Regions from separate parts of the Homo sapiens genome. Here region 2 is linked to region 1. Evidence: promoter capture Hi-C in 16 types of primary human blood cells and fetal thymus (Javierre and others, 2016). All regions are on one chromosome and are shown on one strand. Each heading gives the region's core, a stretch centred on a gene start or on the middle of the fragment in contact. The rest is flanking DNA. Distances are from core to core; before and after follow the strand shown. Region 1 holds the start of CCSER1 (coiled-coil serine rich protein 1). Region 2 overlaps LOC105377331 (a long non-coding RNA gene).

Region 1 (5,965 bases), core at 2,237-4,736:
ACTAAGTGCCAGTTTTAGCCTTGATGTCAATTAACTAGTCCTGTCGCTCTAAGGTACTAATGATGCCACTTTCATATTACAAAAGTCATCACAGAAGGATAATTTACTTCTTAGTAATATGAAAGAAATCCAGAATGCTAATAACATATGCGTAATATTTTCTTGAATTTTTGTATTCCATTAGGCTAAAACAACTAGGGGAAATGGTCTTCATATATTTTTTCATAATGATTGGCTAATCACGATAGAGTATAAAGTAAATCAAAGAAACATAAAATAGCTTGGAAAGAACAAAAGAAATGCAATTTAAAAATGTTTAATGACACTCCACCTACAAACATTGTTTTACAAATGTATTAAAGTTAATTCTCTTTCTAAAATGTCTTAGACTAGTAATAGGGTTGGGGAAAAAAATCTCCCTTTCCTTCCCTGGGCTATAATTTTACTTTTTAGGTATGACTACTGAGGAATTTCTAATTTGGCTCATCACTTCAGTGGGAATTCAGTGCACATAAGGGGCACATATGTAATTGGCAACCTAATTTTTCTGCTTTCATCAAATGGTGCAATGCCAAATCTTCATTGAACTTGCCAGTTAAATGCACTTGGGAACCAAACAGCAGCAAGCATACATGAGATTAAAATGAACAAATTGGAAAGAGTCATTAACTTTTTCTGTTTTCCTATCACAACAAAAATTGTATCATTGAAAGTGTTGCAAAGTGGGGAATTCTACTTGAAACATTAAACAATCTTAAAAGAGAATAATTCATTTACTTAACTTCTAAAATGTGGTTCATTATAATTTATAAATGGGGTTTCTAGTGCAGATTTTTTTCAACAAAAATACAAAATCATTAAAATGAATAAACTTTTCAGGAGTATGTTTTAAGTTATATGTTTCACATGTCTTTCTGGTCTAGTGCATATAAATTCTAGCCTTTATTTGGAAAGAAAAATTGTCAGAAAATTAAGCAAGAAATGTTGGCTTCCTGTAATACCGTAATGAATAAAGGCAATTGACAGCTTTTCATGGTTCTCAGTAATTATGAATGGAACTGAGAGTGTAAAAATTACTATCATTTGTGGTTACCAAAAATGCCCTTGAAATATCTGGTCTAATATATAATTTTGAAGTATGCAATATACAGTCATAATCAAATTATTGTTATTAATGACAATTAAATAGAGAACCAGGACACTGAAAACACCACAAACTTGCTGAATATGATTGAGTATCATCCCTTTAGGAGGACATAACCTTTTAAAATGTCTGTTTACGGCTCTCAAACCACCTATGTATTCACTAGATGCAAATGTTCAGTAATATCTCCTCTACAAAATTTCGTTTTACAATGACACCAGGTTTCTTTCAGAAAGGACTGTGTAGGAAAGTTTTCTTTTTCCATTTATGAGTTCAAGTATGTTAAGACTTTTTAAATTGTTGACCAGCCCTAAAAAACATTAACATTTCATAAATCGCTCTTGCATTGTAAAAAGAAGGAGGGAGGTAGAAGAAAAATGCCAAAGGATTGTAGGTCAGCTTATTTCATAAACAAAAGCTCTAAGGAAAGTCCTGAGATTTTTAAGTAAGCCAGGCCTTCTGAATGGGACATGATATGGACAGTAGAATAAGACAGATTGAGTTCCATTGACATTATTTATTCTTTGTATGATCTTAGGTTATCTACACACACTTTCAAAATTTAACTTTCTTGGTCTGTAAAATTGAGGAAATAATAATAGCTGTCCCATAGGGCACACTATCAATCCCAATATGCTTTGTTAGTCCATTCATTTTTCCAGTGCTTAATCAAAGAAGCTTTAATGGCCTATATACTTATATTATTGATATATTCACGCACCTGTCCCAACTTGCTGTCCTTTCCAATATCACTTTGTTTTTATCACACTCCTTAATATCACTTCTTTGTTAGGTCTTGATCACATGCTTAAATCATTTTTAATGTTTGCTAAACTCTGTATGAGAGATTGAAGAATTACGAGACAGGAACATCAATGTGAAAGGGTAAAATATGTGGAGAATATATAAGGTGCCAGCATATGACAAAACCCTAAAGATGTACGATGGTCACAAGCCATGGAAGAAGATAGGACAACTGAATTGTCAACCTTGCCGCCTCCTCCGTAGCCTCCTAAATCTTATCTTCCTTTTGTCTAATTTATGAAAAATGTTTCCTATAATTGTCTCCCAAAAGCAGAGTTGTCCCCATGCTGTAATATACATTGACCACTCAGATTCATTTAAAAAATACATCTTGCTTTTATTCCCAATATAACCACATTTCAGAAGTTAGATCATAGCCAGTTAGATTACACAGAGCGTGCGCACGCGCACGCGCACACACAAACACACCTTGAAAAAACTGTAGATCACTTGATTTCTGGAAGTTTTTCTCAATACCTCAGTGCACCTGATCACAACATCTTGTAATCTGGGCAGAAGGTAAGGGAGGTGATGTTAGGCGTACAAACTTAATATTGGGGATGCATTTTCTACCTAGAAATGGTCCTACATTCTACCAGAATGGGTTAAAAACAGATGCGCGCGCGCACACACACACACACACACACACAGAATTAAATGCACTACATTTGCTGTATTGCCTGCTAAAGGCATAAATATACTGGAGTGGAGATAAAGAAGGGGATGGATGGGAAAGAGTTCAGTACTTAGTGTAAACCTGAAAGGAAATGAGGCAGTGCAAGGGGAGAGAGGATCAGGGGAAAATAAATTATGTAGGCAACAGAACCATGCATCAAAAGTCTTTTCGATTTCTAAACTGGCAAATTTTCTCCAGGGGACCATCAGTCAAATGATGTCAAATTGAGCTGATTCTCTTGTAATGCCTGTATTGTGTAGGGCCTTCCTTGTAGGAACACAAGTTCCACTCTCGGACACAGTCGCAGTGCTTGCATTATCTTACAGAATTGATTGCTGCAAATGGTTCCTGGGAGGTGTGACCTGCTTAAAGGAAAGAAGCTAGGTTTCTTTTCTTGTTACTGAGGAATGAAGACACTTGTCAGGATGTGAATTGTGTGGGTGAGAAGGAAAAGCGGCGAAAGAATCTGGTAATTCCTTCCCTTACAGGAGGAAGAGAAAAAAGATAACATCGGAACCTTGGAGAGGAGAAATACAGTGCATTTATTTCCAGCATCCCCGCAGTCACTTCACGTCTCTTCAGACTTCCCCTATTCTTTAGTCTTGACCTGCCTATGCACTTGAACTCCACATAAGCACTAGGATGGACTGGGGGAAAAGGCCAGGTCAGCACGGTGGGATACTGCTTCCCCTAAAATGAAAACTCAGCAGCGGGCCAGCAGTGGGTGTGCGCGCGTCGATGCCAGAGGATGCGTGCGTGGAATCCGGCGGACGCAGTGGGCCGGGCACCGCCCTCCAAGCCGCCCCGCCCAGCCCACCACACTCCTCCTTGTATAAAGGCCGCGCTTGGGCCCGCCCTCCTCACAGCCCCGGAGCGCGGCCTGCCGGGGAGGTGGATCTCGCGCTCCCCACACAGTCACACTCCGCGCACTCACACACTTGGAAGCGCCTCCCCACGTCCCTCCCCTGCCCTCCTCTTGCTCTGCTCTTCTCTCCCTCACCACAAATAGTCGCCGACCTACTGCCAATCCGCCTCTCCTCTCTCTCTCTCTCTGTCTCAACATGACTGACTGGGAAGCGGTGGCTCGGGCAGAGCAGCTCCGCTGGCGCAGGCAGGAGGAGCAGGAGGATTATTAAATAACGCAGCTGGACTCTGTGCAACTGGGAGTGGAGAGGAGCCCAACAGCCGAGAAGGGGAGGGAGGGCAGAGGAGGGGGACCAGGAAGGACACCCCCGTGCCCCGAAGACATAAATCCCTGAGTGCCCGGGAGGAGCCTTAACAAGCGCACGGAGCCCTCAAGGTAGTAACGCCCCTGGTGCCTCAGCGCTCAGCGGGTCGCGCGTCGCGTCGCCGCTTTGCGGGGCCGGCCGCAGGCGGACGCGGGGATGACCGCTCGGCAGGTGACCGCGCCGTGTCGGGGCCGCCTGCGAGCAGCGCGCGCCCAGGCCCGGCGTGCTCGGCGCAGAGACCTGGCCTTGCGGGCGGGGTGGGAAGGAGGCGGGCGGGCTCGCTCACCACCGGCCCGCGACTCCCAGTGCGCCGCGTGGCCATTTCCTCCACGCTGCTGCGTGGTTTGCTGCCTGCGGCCGCGGCGGCCGCTCCAGGGCGATGCGGAGCGCTGGCCAAGGCGGCGAGAGTTGGCGCAGGCTTCGGGTCGCTCCCCTTCCTCGCCACTCGCGTCCCGCAGGTAGAGGCGACCGGTCAGCGCTGGCGCCCCGGGCTGCGGGTGCTGAGGCGGGGACGGCGGCGAAGAGGGGGAAGGGGAGGAGGGGGCGGGGAGCCAGGGGCTCCCGGAGGAACCGCAGTGCGGGGCCGGGACCACCTCTTGCCTCCGCCTGCTTGTCCTCTGGCGCCAGTTTCCTGGATTGGAAGCAAGACCCTGCCCAGAGGCAGCAGTAACGGCAGCGACTTAGATTGAACCACTTGCTTTGTGGTGGAGCGTCAAGGGCCCCAGGTTGTGTGCGTGTGTGTGTGTGTGTGTGTGTGCGCGCGCGCGCGCGCTCTGGACTAACCAGTGGGTTGGTTCACCTGAGCAGAAAGTCAGCCGTAAGCTGAAACCGCATGTGGCCCCCTGGCCCCTTCGACTTTTGGCTTGTGTCCCAGGGACTCGTACACACGGTGCCAGCAAGGGGTAAGGGTGACGGAGGGATTTGTGAATGGTGCTTCTGCGTGCGTGGAGGCTGAGCCTTGCTGATGTAAAGGAGGAGGTATCCAGAGTGAGAAGAAAGGCTATTTATGGCAAAGAGTTGTGAAATTTCTTGGGGTTTCCTTTTAGTGTATCCTGAACTGCTCTCTTTCTCTCTCTCTCTCTCTCCTCTCCCTGCCTCAGAATTAGAAGCAATTATGCTTCCCCTTCCTCTCGTGGGACATGGAATATGAAATGAAGTAAAAAAAAAACTCATATTTTTACAGGTAGAAAAAAATACTTCTTAGAAGTTACAGATTCTTTGCCCTTTAATGTTTTTATGTCCTCTTCTCCACCCCTCTTACCTTTTCAGGCAGTCAGTAGGACTTACAAGTCAGAAAATACCTACTTGGTTTCAACAGCTTTCATTTCTGAAATCTTTACAGTTGAATACCTTCCTATTGAAATGTAACACACATCCTCCCTTCTCTGCCCCTCAAGGACTATTAAAAATAATGTGTACACGTTTAAAGTAAAGCTGGTTTTATTAACAGCCTTAGGGAAAACGGATAAGAGGACACCTAGGTGGGGGTCAGTTATCACTGGTTCCTTCAAAACTGGTTATTAAGGGAAGACCTAAAATACTGGTAATCTAGGCTATAATATAATTTGTCTTGGTTTCTCTTTCTGTTTGCTTTATAACAGGTACATGTTCCAGATACGTAACTTGAAACTTAAAGATGCCTTGGGACAGTGCCTGTCACGGTGCTTATAAAATGAATGTTTTCTCTTAAAAGTAGCAACCTGTACTTTTATAGAACTGTGACTGGGTTTAGTAGTAGGACAGTATCCTTAATATTGCAAACTGAAATGTCTCTAAAAGCCTGCCAAGACAATGTTTTTCAAATATTGAAATTCCATGTTGTAACCACACTTTCAATAGTTTCACAGAGAAAAAAGAGAAGTTGGTCAACCTATTGTCAGAGTGATTTGTCTTCATTTAAATTAATTAGTTATTTTGATCAAAACAAACCAACTGTTGTTTGTATTGTTTTATTGCTTTCCTAAACAGTCCTGTTCTTTGAAAAACAAAGCAGAGTTAAGGATTTGATATTTTGATTTTGTTAGATTTATATTACTTTGAAATACATTTTCAACACGGAAGCATGTGCAGCTTTAAATATTAGGTTAGAACTCAGATGGAGAACCCCATTCG
Region 2 (5,965 bases), core at 1,340-3,839, 62 kb before region 1:
TGAACATCCAAAAGTTCTAAACCACGTGCAGTGAGAAAGTTAATGGGCCAGATTCTGTAACAGGAAATAATATTAACTAAAGGAGAAATGTCCTCCATTAGAATGAAATCCACGACCACTGAGGACCTTAATTACATAGCTCTTCTAAGAGAGCCAAGATCCCTACATGTGTTAAAGATACATAGACATTGATTTTGTGCAAGAGGGAACTAGTAACAAATTATGCATATAATGAATAACATTTTTATTAAAGAATTATGGAAAAATCATCAATAATGTTGGTTATGTATTAACAAAATAATAGACCTATATATTTTCTTGAAATTAGAAGTGTGGAAATCAGTCTATTGCAGTGAAATTGAAGTAGCTAGTTTTATAACTTTTATTAGGATTCGTTGGAACAACTAATATTTACACATTCTCCATATTTCTGTGAACCTTAAAGAGAATCCTTAAGAAATAGTAAATAACTTCTGAAAGCCAGTAAATATTTACTGATTAGAATGCAACTGGGGGCCAGGTGCAGTGGTTCATGGCTGTAATCCCAGAACTCTGGGAGGCTGAGGATGGCAGATCGCTTGAGCTCAGGAGTTCCAGAGCAGCCTGGGCAGCATGACAAAATCCCATCTCTACCAAAAATACAAAAAAATTATCCAGGTGTGGTGACGTGCACCTGTCGTCCAAGCTACTCGGGTAGCTGAGGTGGGAGGATTGTTTGAGCCTGGGAGGTGGAGGTTGCAGTGAGCCGAGATCATGCCACTGCACTCCAGGCTGGGCGACAGAGCAAGACCCTGTCTCAAAGAAAAAAAAGAAAAAGAATGAAGGTGGGAGGAAGGGAGCAACAGGACGAATAACAAAAGCACAATATAAATATTTATTATTAAAAAGATAAAAGAGGTAATAGCACAAACATAATGAAGGCTCTCTCAGTAGTGTGTAAATTTTGCTTAAATAAATGCCTAAGACGTGGTGTTCATAGGAGACGCTTTCCAAATTTGAAAAAAAAATAAAATTTCTATCTTTTGTCTTGAGGGGATCTGTCACATGTTTGTAGAAATACAGTGGCACTTCTGCAAGCAAACCTCCCCCACCGTCACATCTAGCCAGGTGTGAATCACAAAGCCAGCATGTGACTCCCATCACAATGGAAATAAGGAATAAATGAGGCTATTAAATGTAAAGTCTCTTAAATGAACCACGTTAACATTCTCCTCTTCAAAGACAGTCTTAGTTTTTGTAACATCCAAGCTTATTTTTATAACTCACACTTCTTTAGAATATCTCAATTTGAATATCAATATAAGATTCAAAATAATCTAGTATCTCCCTTCACCACATTTTCACAGTAAATATGAATAATGCACATGGAGCATTGAAATATTTTTGCTGCTTCATAGAATTTAGAGTATGGTCTTATACAAAAAAGTAACTTAAAAGCCTTTTTGATATAATTGTTCATATCATCAATTACTGAGGTATACACGTACACAGAGTAAGAAGCTTTTCCATATGAAGGGATTTAGAAACATGTAATACTATAAATCTATACCCTTGGAATTGAAGGAAAGTTCTAGCCCTGTGTCTGCACCTGTTTCTTTATGGGACAGAATATAAATAACTAATACTGTCAAGTTTCTGGGGGTAAAGAATAGGATTTTTCCTACATTGACACAAATAAGCTCTAAGAATATGTAGCTTTTGTATTAGCTTTTCTATTAGCCATATGTTCTGTGTCCCAGCTGTTAAGATCTCCTACAGCTGATTAATTATATTTTTTAAAAGTCAGGCAATTTACACCTGTGATACCATAGATCACTTAAGGCTAATGGACTGGAAGTCCTTGCGATATTAGGGATCCTTCAGGGTATGGGTAGGATGAGGAAGGAACATAATCTGTGCCCCATAATCTAGCACAGTTTCACTCTTTACTAATGCTTAGGGTTTAGATAAATGTCTCATTAAGAGGTAAATGTCTCATTAAGGTTATTAGGGTTATTAGGTTATTAGGGTTTAGGTAAATGTCTCATTAAGAGGAAATGCATTTGTCAGCAAGGGCTGTAGGCTCATAGGGTATGATTGCAAAAGACTTTTCTGAAAGCTTAGCTTTGGATAAATCTTCAGCTAGCCTAGGCAGAGTGCATATTCTATCCTGTGAAAACAATTGGTGAACACTGGTGAAAAAAGAGTGTATTAGCCCACAGGCCACAGAGGTGTTTAAAGAATTGAGCTTATGTACATCAATGTTCAATAGGAAGTCCAGTTTATTTCATATATAGGGTCAACAGTTAAGGAAGAAACTGGGAAAGAGGCTGTGTCATGGGACCAACAGGGAGGGTCAGTAAAAATATTGAGTAAAGAGAAAGTTTCTTTACAAGGTTTTTCTGTTTGTTTGTTTGTTTGTTTTAAAGCTAGTTGATTCAAGTAATGCAATTACCTGATTTTATAGCTCTAAGACAGTTATTTTCACTGTTTACCAAATGGATTGGGGAATTTTGAAGATAACTTAAAAGCCTGAACAAATGTTTTAGAACTTTTTCTTAGGTTTCGATACAAGAGAAGGCATTTGAAGTAACCACCAGTTTCTTCAATTTCTAAGATATCTTTTCTTCTTTTTCTCACAGTAAATGTGAGTTTTGTTTTCCCTTCCTTATAGAGTTATTAAAAGCAGTAAAAGATTATCAGTGTCCACAACTTCAGCTGTGGTCATCATTGGGAAAGCTGTCATAAACTTTACCTTAATAAAAATCAATTGCTCAATTTTCTATATCAGTGAACAAGAACACTAACCAAGAAAAATGAAATTTATGTTTAATCTATCCATTTAGATCAGATGGTATCTCAGTCATAAGGGAAGCAAAGAGCTCTGGATAAGGAATAAGGAGCTCTGGGTTTTAATTATTCTCTGCTACTTTGATACTTTTACTATAATTGGAACCCTGGAGAAACCAAGGACCAAGTCTCCTTGTCCATAAAGTTAGAGCCAAGATCATTTCTGGTTTATGAACTACAAAGTTCTTTGAACTATGAATGCTGTGAAGGCATTCTAGAGCCACCAAATGTAACCTTACTCAGCTAAGAATCAAGCTTATGTTCTAAAGCCTTTTGATTCATTTGGCAGAATATCAGTTGGACTGAATGGGAAATTACTGCATCAATTGGAAGCTTCCAGACTCTCACCATTAGTGTTCCCATTATTCATTCACTGTGTATGATAATCCTAGATCAATATCCAAATCTATGGGAGCTGGTTCTAAGAAACGCTCTCAGAGTAAATCTATTCATTTATTGATGTAACCAATTATTCAGCATGTATTCATTAATGATTATTTATATGGCACTATATTATATAGACTGTATACAAAAGAAATGCTCTAGTCTCACAGAGCTTATGTTATATTAAATGCTAGTATACCTTATAATAAGGATTTTTAGGGCCAGATATCAGAAGTCTTGGAATCATCAGGGCAGGGACCCCATTCCAAACATTACTGCCAAAGAGAAGAGAACCGCAGGCTTGACAAGGCTTGGTGGAAGGCATAGTGGCTGAAATTCACCAACAATCAAAATTGAACAATATTTCTGAAAACATATGTTCTCTGACATGACAGTGGTATGTTTATTAGGAATAATTATACCCAGGAAAAGTAATTGGAATATCATTAAATCTAGAATGATTATGTTGAGTCAAAAGAAAATAATTGGTTGTTTGAGAATTTCTGCTTTGATTTGGAGAGTAGAAACCCATAAATATACAGTATTATATTAGTTGGTTCTTTGCAAGAATCCTATGCCTGGATAGCATTAGGAGATATACGTAATGCTAAATGATGAGTTAATGGGTGCAGCACACCAGCAAGGCACATGTATACATATGTAACTAACCTGCACATTGTGCACATGTACCCTAAAACTTAAAGTATAATAATAATAAAAAAAAGACAGTGACATGGGAAAATGTAAAGACTTTTAACAGCAAACCTATAAAATAGGTCTCTGGCCCCTAAAAAAAAAAAAAGAATCCTATGCCTTTTGTTTGGCCCCTTTGTTTTTGCTTTCTCCAGCCATTTTTTCCAAGCATTCTTTTATCATTTTCTTAGACTCTGATGCCTAGAATATCCAGTACCAGAGATAAAGTTCTGGTTAATACATTCACAATAAGATGTAAAGGGATTGGTTAAACTACATTTAAAGGTGAATGTGAATTTTAAGAAATAAATGGAGAAAGATAATACATAACATAAAAGAATATCCCATTAATAGTAGACTCTCAGGAATCCAAGGAATAGCTGTTTAAGGGAGGAAAAAAATATATATAGGAGTTCCTAATTTGTTTATTAATAAGGACATCTCATTGTTAATTGTTTCCTTAATTCATGCCACAAACTTTTTTTAACTTCTAAATTCAGGGGTACAAGTGCAGGTTTGTTACACAGGTAAACTTTTGTCATGGGGATTTTTTGTACAGATTATTTCATTACCCAGGTATTAAGCCTAGGACCCATTAGTTATTTTTCCTGATCCTCTCCCTTTGCCCACCCCTCACCCTCTGAAATACCCTAGTGTGTGTTGTTCCCCTCTCTGTGTCCTTGTGTTCTCATCATTTAGCTTCCACTTATAAGTGAAAACATGCAGCATTTGGTTTTCTGTTCCTATGTTAGTTTGCTAAGGATAATGGTCTCAAGTTCCATCCATGTCCCTGCAAAGGACATGATCTCATTCTTTTTTATGGCTTCATAGTACTCCACAGTGTATATGTGCCACATTTTCTTTATCTAGTCTACATTGATGAGCATTTGGGTTGATTCCATGTCTTTGTTATTCTGAATAGTGCTGCAATGAACATACACATGGATGTGTCTTTATAGTAGAAATATTTATATTCCTTTGGGTACATAACGAGTGATGTGATTGTTGGTTCCAATGGTATTTCATTGGTCTTTGAGGAATTGCCACACTGTCTTCCACAATGGCTGGACTAATTTACACTCCCACCAACAATATATAATGTTCTTTTTTCTCTACAACCTTGTCAGCATCTGTTATTTTTTGACTTCTTCATAATGGCCATTGTCACTCGTGTTAGACAGTATCTTACTGAGGTTTTGATTTGCATTTCTCTAATTATCAGTGATATTGAGCTTTTTTCATATGATTGTTGGCTGCATGTATGTCTTCTTTTGAAAAGTGTCGGTTCATGTCCTTTGCCCACTTTTTAAGGGAGTTGTTTTTTTCTTGTAAATTTGTTTAAGTTCTGTATAGATGCTGGATATTAGACCTTTGTCAGATGTATAGTTTGCAAAAATTTTCTCCCATTCTGTAGGTTGTCTGTTCACTCAATTAATAGTTTCTTCTGCTGTGCAGAAGTTCTTTAGTTTAATTAGATTCCATTTGTCAATTTTTGCTTTTTTTTGCAGTTATTTCTGGCGTGGCACCACGCCTGGCTAATTTTGTATTTTTAGTAGAGTCGGGGTTTCTCCATGTTGGTCAGGCTGGTCTCGGACTCCTGACCTCAGGTGATCCACTTGCCTCGGCCTCCCAAAATGCTAGGATTACAGGTGTGAGCCACCATGCCCGGCGACCTGATTGTTTTATAAAGAGGAGTTCCCCTGCACAAGCTCTCTCTCTTAGCCTGCTGCCATCCACCTAAGATGTAACTTTCTCCTCCTTGCCTTCCGCCATGATTGTGAAGCCTCCCCAGCCATGTGGAACTGTAAGTCCACTAAGCCTCTTTCTTTTGTAAATTGCCCAGTCTCCGGTACGTCTTTATCAGCAGGGTGAAAATGAACTAATACAGTATGGGTCTAAAAATTGTCCACCTGTCATTTGTTTATTCATTTAGAATCTAAACCTAACCTTGATAGGGTGGTTTCAATGCAATCTTCTTGAAATAAATCACAGAAACTGTAGATCGCTGAGACCCAAGTAGCTAGAAACTTACCATCTTTTAGAGTTTTAGGATGAGGGG

What was found. The method cuts DNA at HindIII sites, captures the fragments that hold promoters and counts their contacts. A CHiCAGO score of 5 or more calls a contact.
Region 2: a contact is called between a fragment that was not itself captured here and the fragment with the promoter of CCSER1 in region 1, in 1 of 17 cell types (total B cells). The highest score is 5.1, in total B cells.

The regions. Positions count from the first base shown.
Region 1 is chr4:90,123,908-90,129,872 of GRCh38, forward strand. It overlaps CCSER1 (coiled-coil serine rich protein 1), which reads left to right and starts at 3,487. Exons shown (of 11, transcript NM_001145065.2): 1 at 3,487-3,924. RefSeq lists silencers at 4,045-4,244, 4,355-4,604. The HindIII fragment of the contact is 6,776 bases long and covers 1,821-5,965 here.
Region 2 is chr4:90,063,257-90,069,221 of GRCh38, forward strand. All of the region lies in intron 1 of LOC105377331 (a long non-coding RNA gene), which reads right to left. Among named protein-coding and RNA genes, the nearest start is that of CCSER1, 61 kb to the right of the region's middle. The HindIII fragment of the contact is 986 bases long and covers 2,097-3,082 here.